Linked DNA regions of Homo sapiens: region 1 is linked to region 2. Evidence: promoter capture Hi-C in 16 types of primary human blood cells and fetal thymus (Javierre and others, 2016). All regions are on one chromosome and are shown on one strand. The core of a region is centred on a gene start or on the middle of the fragment in contact, and the rest is flanking DNA. Distances in the headings are between cores, read along the strand shown. Region 1 has its middle 2.0 kb from the start of ZNF66. Region 2 holds the start of ATP13A1 (ATPase 13A1).

Evidence for each region. The method cuts DNA at HindIII sites, captures the fragments that hold promoters and counts their contacts. A CHiCAGO score of 5 or more calls a contact.
Region 1: a contact is called between a fragment that was not itself captured here and the fragment with the promoter of ATP13A1 in region 2, in 1 of 17 cell types (non-activated CD4 T cells). The highest score is 5.4, in non-activated CD4 T cells.

What each region holds. Positions count from the first base shown.
Region 1 is chr19:20,772,383-20,776,259 of GRCh38, forward strand. No RefSeq gene overlaps it. Among named protein-coding and RNA genes, the nearest start is that of ZNF66, 2.0 kb to the right of the region's middle. The HindIII fragment of the contact is 252 bases long and covers 2,502-2,753 here.
Region 2 is chr19:19,661,054-19,665,137 of GRCh38, forward strand. ATP13A1 (ATPase 13A1) reads right to left here and starts at 2,623. Exons shown (of 26, transcript NM_020410.3): 1 at 2,218-2,623. The coding sequence starts at 2,613. RefSeq lists enhancers at 369-1,016, 1,790-1,839, 1,971-2,953, 2,225-2,326, 2,670-2,959 and 1 more and silencers at 2,360-2,619, 3,060-3,109. The HindIII fragment of the contact is 4,289 bases long and covers 1,772-4,084 here.

The DNA.
Region 1 (3,877 bases), core at 1,378-3,877, 1.1 Mb after region 2:
TTGTAATCCATTTACCCACATTCAAGATCACAGTTATGGTGGAAATTTTTGCCTGTTGATCTTCCTGCTGATTAAATAGTCTGTCAAGAGGAAGCAGAGACACACTAGCATCAACATGGAAAACAGGGCCAGGCACAGTGACTCACACCTGTAATCCCAGCATTTTGGGAGGCTGAGGTGGGCAGATCACAAGGTCAAGAGATTGGGACCATCCTGGCCAACATGGCAAAACCCCGTCTCTAAAATTACAAAAATAAACTGAGCATGGTGGCTCATACCTCTAATCCCAGCACTTTGGGAGGCCAAGGCCTGCTGATCAGGAGGTCAAGAGATGGAGACCATCCTGTTTAACATGGTGAAACCTCATCTCTACTAAAAATACAAAAATTAGCTGGGTATGGTGGTGTGTGCCTGTAGTCCCAGCTACTCGGGAGGCTGAGGCAGGAGAATTGCTTGAACCTGGGACATGAAGGTTGTGGTGAACCCAGATTGTGCCACTGCACTCCAGCCTAATGAAAGAGTGAGACTGCATCTAAAAAATGAATAAATAAAAAATAATACAAAATTAGCTGGGCGTGGCAGCCTGTGCCTGTAATCCAAGCTACTTGGGAGGCAGAGGCCAGAAGAATCACTTGAACCGTGGAGATGGAGGTGGCAGTGAGCTGAGATTGCACCACTGCACTTCAATTTGGTGACAGGGCTGGATTCCATCTCAAAAACAAAAAACAACAACAAAAAAACATGGAACACAGTGACGATGGGAGTATGCACCAGGATTCAGATACCTTACCAATATTGTTTTCCCCAAACCTCTTTATTCCGCATTAACCATTTGTTTCATTGCCACTTGGGCACCCAGGTAGTAAGACCATTTGCTACTGACAAAGAGTTGATATAAAAGTAACAAATCCCTCTGGCCTCCTCCTGAATAGCTCGGAGAAACGACTACTAGTTCAGCTAACTGGCTGCTCCCACCCCTTCCTTCATCAGAAATGCTTATGTTTTTAACAGGATTATAAGCCACAGCCCTCCAGCATTGGGTCCCACCAAAGTATTTGGTGGATCCATCAGTAAACCAAGCATGTTTCTGATCCTCTGGGCTTAGTTCTTTAAAGGATTTGCCCCATTTGATGTGTGTGTGTGGGGGGTGTTTCTTTCCCTATCTGCAGGACTTGCTTGGTTGTTTCCTGAGCTCGCAGGTTTTCCACATCCTCATGTAAAAGTGATAGCCCCTATGATTTTGGCTTAGCCTGGTTTTGTATGTCCCATTTCCATTTTATGATGCTACTTTCTGGGCATGCCCTATCTGGTGGGTTTTGGGGGAACTCATGACCAAAGTCATAATAGAAATTTCAGGCCTCATAAAGACATCGTGGTTGAAGCAGAGGTGTTCCATTTCCAGCAAAGCTCAATAGCAAGCTAACAATTGCTTCTCAAAAGAGGAATAAGCTTTTCCAGCCTCTGGCAGTTTCTGGGTCCAAAACATGAAAAGTACCCTCTTTCCATCTTGTTTCTGCCTAAGGCTCCAATTAGCATGTTGATCTACGACAGTTACTCGCAGTTCATCAGGCCCATCCCATATAGGCCATAGATCCAGGGCCAGTTGCACTGCTTGTTTAGCTTGTTCAAAAGCCATGCTGTCTTTCTCTCCACAGTGAGAGTCATACCTTTTTCTAGTGGCTGCATTCAGATGTTGTAAAATGTTACCCAAGTAAGGAATATGATGTGTTCAGAATCCAAACAAGTCAATACATTTCTGGGCCTCCTTCTTAGTGGTAGGGGTTGCAAATTATAGTATTTTAGCCTTAGCCTTTGGTGAAGTGGACTGTTTCTTTGCATTCCATAGGATGCCAAAGAATTTTACACTTTGTGCGGATCCTTAATTTTACTAGGCTTAATTTCCCATTTTTGAGATAGGAACTGGGTTTTTACATGCTCTAAGCCCCGGCTGACTAGTTCTTCAGTTTTACCCTGATTGGGCCACCTGGACAGCTGCTTTTTTCAGCAATAGGCTGATAGCTTTGAGCCTGATCAGTCAAGACATTGACTGGCATTGGGCCAGGGCCAGTCCGGAAGTCAGATTAGCATTTTCCTTTTCCAGCTTATATTTCTCTTGTAGCAACCAGCCCCTATCTTGACACATTAACTTATAAGCAGCAATCAAACACTATCCACTTTGTGAGATTCCCTCAGCATCTCCTTTGGTGACTGGAATCCCCTGCAGCACTTCACGCACAGTCAAAGGTTTAAATTGCACTAATTTAGATTCCCAATTCCCACAAAGGCCAGTTCCCCTGAACCATTCAATCACAAAGAAGGAGAACTGGGAGTGATCCCATCTCAGGATATGGGAAATCCTTGAGCCTCCAGCCCTATCCTTCTGGTCAAAAAGGGGCCCACTTTTGTTTTCAAATCCTGTTTGTGATGCCAAAAATGTTCTGTATGGGAAACGTGGGAGAGGAGAAGAAAAGACATACATACAATAACTTTAATGGTAAACAAGCTTTAACCCACATCAATATCAATGCAGACAGAATAAACTAATGATATAATAAGCAAATGATATAATAAGCAAATAAATATAATACACAGATTGATATAATAAGCAAATTGCAGTAAGAAGAGGAGATGGGAAAAGATATATATATATATTTACCCTCACTAGACTATGGAGGATTACCAACTGAGTAGGAAGAAACAGCCCAGGCTCCAGAGTCGGCCACCCATTCATGCACAGACAAGGAGTCTCATGAAGCTTCAGGGTGGTCTGGGACCCTAGCTCTTTTGTAACGAGTTGTTTGGCATAAGGCCCAGTGAGGAGGGCCATTTGGGACTTGCCTCACGGAACACAAAAGGGTCAAGTTGTTTTTGTGATTGTCTATTGTTTTTCAACAACTAATGTATAGTAATAGAATGAAATAGACATTTCTTTGATACAGCTCTGGATGAACACCTCAGGGGCTCACAACCAGGACCTGTTCTGGGACTTGGTGACCATTGTGTCCACGTTCAATTGAGTTCAAATTTAACATTTAACTTTTCCTCCATAAATTCTCCTGTCTTCATGAATTGGCTCTGTCTAGGCAAAGGGCAAAATGAACCCCTTGGGCTGTTACATAACCTCCACCTCCTGGGTTCAAGTGATTCTCCTGCCTCAGCCTCCGGAGTAGCTGGGACCACAGATGTGCACCACCATACCCAGCTAATTTTTTACATTGTGAGTAGAGATGGGGTTTCACCATGTTGGCCAGGCTAGTCTTGAACTCCTGACCTCAAGTGATCCACCCACCTTGGCCTCCCAAAGTGTTGGGATTACTGGCATGAGCTACCTGTGCCTGACCCTAAATTATTTCTATCTCTTATAGCAGTTTGAAATTACTTAAAGGTTGTTTCAAGTTGAAAAAATAAGAAGAATGTGGATAAAAATAAAATATAAATAGATAAAAAAATTACAGGGATTACAAAATATATATGTAAATCTGGAGTGGTCAAAAATGACAAATTTGATTTATTTATAAGGTTTTATTAAAATTAGCTTTAATCGTTAATACACTATTACCAAAGTAAAAGCTGATTTTCTCTTGAACAAAAATTTTATGTATTATTAATATGACAGCAAAATACTTCTGTTCACCTTTGAATACATTCAACAAGACAGAGAGTAAAAAAGAGATAAAATGTTCCCATGCTCTGGCATGGACCAGGCTCAGCTCTGGGAGGAAGCCCTGCCTGAAAAGGCTGCAGCTTAGGCTGTCACTCTTTTCTTCACTCCGCCCAGCAGCTGATCACATCTTCTGTCACTCAGTGTCTGAGGGGGCGGGACCTTAAGCATTAGCCAATCAGAGGCGCTGGGCTGGAAACCGTCCAATCAGGCACG
Region 2 (4,084 bases), core at 1,373-3,872:
GGGCAACAGAGCCAGACTCCATCTCAAAAACAAACAAACAAACAAACAAAAAAACCCCAAAAAACAAAACAAAAACAAAAACAACAACAAAAAAAGCTGGGAAGCTGGGTGCACAGACAGCACCTAATGCCCAGGGCTCTGCTCTGCTGAAGGTGACATGAACTCAAATAGGAAGAACGCTGCCAGGCACCCACCCAGTACGTCCTCAATTCACGTGAGCCAAGCCCCCGCCCCATCACAGGCCCCCGGCCTCCTGCTCAGCTCTGCCTCTTCCACCAACCCTGCTCACTACACTCCACAGCTCCACACGCACATGGGGCTCGATCGTGCCTCAGCAAAGGGCCTTGGCATGTGCTGTTTTCTCTGCCCGGAATACACAGTCACACAGCTCCCTTGCTGCCTCAGGCTTTTGCTGAAACATCACCTTCTCAGGAGCCCCTCCCTGGCTGCCCCATCTAAAGTTCCCGGCAATGTCCCATCCTGTCCTGATGTTAGATGTCATCTCTGTTTGGCATCAACTGCTGACTATGAGTTCTCCCTCCCAGTAACACCACAAAGGCAGGGGGATTTGCCTGTTTTGTTCACTGCTGTTTCCCCAGCACCTAAGACACAGAAATGTTGAATGGAACTCGTTCAGTGCTCCCTGGACCCCGTGAACCGCCATCCATTCCTCTGCTGCTCTGCTAGACCGAGCTGCATGGAGACGAGCTGCATGGAGATGGGGGGAGCACAATGATGACCCGCAGAAACAAAGCGCCACCGCACGGGTGGTTCATGGGCCTCCAAAGCAGGCAGCAAATAACAACAATCACATAACTACAAACGTGACGTCACGGAAGAAAGGTACAAGAGGCTATACGCTGTGATGGCCCCAGGGCGGGCACTCTGCAGATATCATCTCCGCTTCTCAAGATGGCACCCAGTAGTTGTTAGTTACGGTTCTCAGTTTACAGAAGGGGGAAACTGAAACTCAGAGAGCAGAAGCGGCCCTTTCTGAGATCTGAATCAAACCCAGATCCACCTCTCCTGGCTGATGGCTGTTCAGCTCCTCCCACTTCTCCATCCCTGGAGAGGAAGTTAAGAGCTAAGCTGCTTAGCTGCAGGTCAAAAGGCAGCTGAAGTTTGAGCGGTGCCACAGTCCCCTTAACCCCTCCTTTATTTTGTCCCTCATTGGTGTCTTTCATTGTACTACCTCAAAGCTACCACGTTGAGCTCCTCCCCTGGGATAGATAAGTCTTTTTGAAGGACAGAACAGGTTGTCTCTCAGGAGAGGAGAATGAGGATTCTACCCACATTCAGAGCCAGCCAGGGTGGGGGGCTTCTGTCTTTCTGTAGCCCTTGATGCTGTTCCCTTTTCCTCTTCTTGAGGCAAACACACTCCTGGAATCAGAGGGGAAGCTTCCTGATATACCTCAGTGTCCATGGCTCCAAACCTGCTGGTGTCACCTGAGGCAGGCCCAGAGAGAGACGACACAGTCACTGCTTCAGGCCCAGGGAAGCTCACAGTCACCAACTCCTCCGACGACACTTGGTCACTCAGAACTCTAAACTGTGGGTCAGGAGCGCGACCTTGCTTGCTGTTGTATCCCCGACAGAACTCAGTATCACCACCCTCATTTTGCGGAAAGACATCATGTAAATGACTCGCTCATAAACACCTCTGCCTCTCTTCAACACTGTAATTAACTGCATTTCATGCTCCTTTCCATCACAGTATGGAAGACCACTAAGCACTGGACAGCAAGACTTGGTTCAGTCTAAGAACCAACTAAGCTTCATAGATGGGGGAAACCTATCCCAGTGATCTCGCCTTACACTTTGAAAACCAAGGTAGGAGACAGATGAGATGGAAGGTAGGGCCGTTTCCAGAACAAGAGTAGTCGCTAATATGGGAACTAGTATAAACAACTCCTACCTGACCTGGGCGACGTATGCTGGGCCCTGCGCTAAGCCTTTTACAAGTATTACATCACTGAATCTAAATGACCATAACAGGGAGGACTTCAGAAAAAGGAAATAACCCGCACCAGGCATGCACAGCAAGTCAGCAGTGGGGTCATGATTAAGCCTGCGCCAAAGTGTAGAGGGTGCCCCTGGGAATCCAGGCCAGGCAGATGAGTGGCCCAGGTCGCGATGGTGACCGACAGGAAGGCCGCAGCTGGGACCCACGGCGAGGCTCGACCGTGCTGGGGGTCGGGCTCGCGTGTACACACTTACCGGGGTGCAGGTGAGCGCGCAATGCGCGTGCACAGACCAATGCCCCGAGAGGACAGTGAGCGCGTGCGCGAGGCAGATGGTGGCAAGCACGAGCAGCGCAGCTTCGGGGATCTGCACCCAACTGCTGCCCCAGCCCCAGCAGCCAGCGGCTGCGGCACCCAACCAGGCCGGGTAAAGCAGCCCGGCGAATGGCAGCACCGTGAGGCGCCGCAACAGCGCCAACCGCCGGTACGGCCACACGGCAGCCACCAGCTCGTCACCGTTCGCTATGAGCGCCGGCCCGGCGGCAAGGAGCGCGCGCGGCTGCGGCCCGGGCTTGGGCTGCCCGTCAGGCCGGACCCCGCAAGGCCGGGCCCCGCAGGGCACCGCGTTGCCCACCGCCGCCGCTGCCGCCATCTTTCCTAGCGCCGCGCTCACTTCCGGGCAGAGGAACGCCTCACTTCCGAAGTTTTACTTCCGGTAAGCCCTGAGCGCCGCCATGGCAGCCTGGACTAGGAAGAGCCAGGGCAACAGAACAGGCTGGCCCCGGCAGGGACTACTTCGGGTGCCGCCATGACAGGCTGTGGCCGGAAGAAGAGGCTGGGCGTCGCCATGACAGAGAGGGACTGGAAGACCTAACGGTGCCTGCCTCCGCTGCCACGCCGGACTGAGACCGGAAAAGACAAGGCCGGCAAGGCGGGCTTGGGCGCCACCATGACAACCTGAACCAAAAAAAGCGAGCCCTCCTCCTTGACTACACCAGCACCACCTGTCACCAGGGGCGAAGCCTGGACCCTGCGGAGGCGGGGTCGGGAGCTTCGGAGTTCAGGAGGCGGGGCCCGGTGCGGGGGGCGGGGCTTGTGAGGGGCGGGGTCGGGGACCGCCCCGGAACACAACCACACCGGACAAGAGCCTTAATGTGATAGATAAGAATTACAAATACTAGCCGGGCGCGGTGGCTCACGCCTGTAATCCCAACACTTTGGGAGGCGAGGCGGGTGGATCACCTGAGATCAGGAGTTCAAGACCCAACATGGTGAAACCACGTCTCTACTAAAAATACAAAAATTAGCCGGGCGTGGTGGCACATGCCTGTAATCCCAGCTACTCGGGAGGATGAGGCAGGAGAATTGCTTGAGCCCGGGAGACGGAGGTTGCAGTGAGCCAAGATTGCTCCACTGCACTTCAGCCTGGCCAACAGAGCAAGACTGTCTCAAAAAAAAAAAAAAGAAAAATGAATTACAAAAACCACTTTAGGCCGGGCGCGGTGGCTCACGCCTGTAATCCCAGCACTTTGGGAGGCCGAGGTCAGGAGATCGAGACCATCCTGGCTAACGCGGTGAAACCCCGTCTCCACTAAAAATACAAAAAAAAAAAAAAAATTCTCCGGGCGTGGTGGCGGGCGCCTGTAGTCCCAGCTACTCCGGAGCCTGAGGCAGAATGGCGCGAACTGGAGAGGCAGAGCTTGCAGTGAGCGGAGATTGTGCCACTGCCCTCCAGCCTGGGCGACAGAGCGAGACTCTGTCTCCAAAAAAAAAAAAAAAAAAAAAAAGAAATTACCACTTTAACATAAAAAATGAAAAACTGGTGTTTACTTGAAATTATATACTTCTAGGCCGGGCGCGGTGGCTCACCCCTGTAATTCCAGCACTTTGGGAGGCCGAGGCGGGCGGATCACGAGTTCAGGAGATCGAGACCGTCCTGGCTAACACAGTGAAACCCCGTCTCTACTAAAAATACAAAAAATTAGCCGGGCGTGGTTGCAGGCGCCTGTAGTCCCAGCTACTCGGGAGGCTGAGGCAGGAGAATGGCCTGAACCTGGGAGGCGGAGCTTGCAGTGAGCCGAGATCGCGCCACTGCACTCCAGCCTGGGCGACAGAGCGAGACT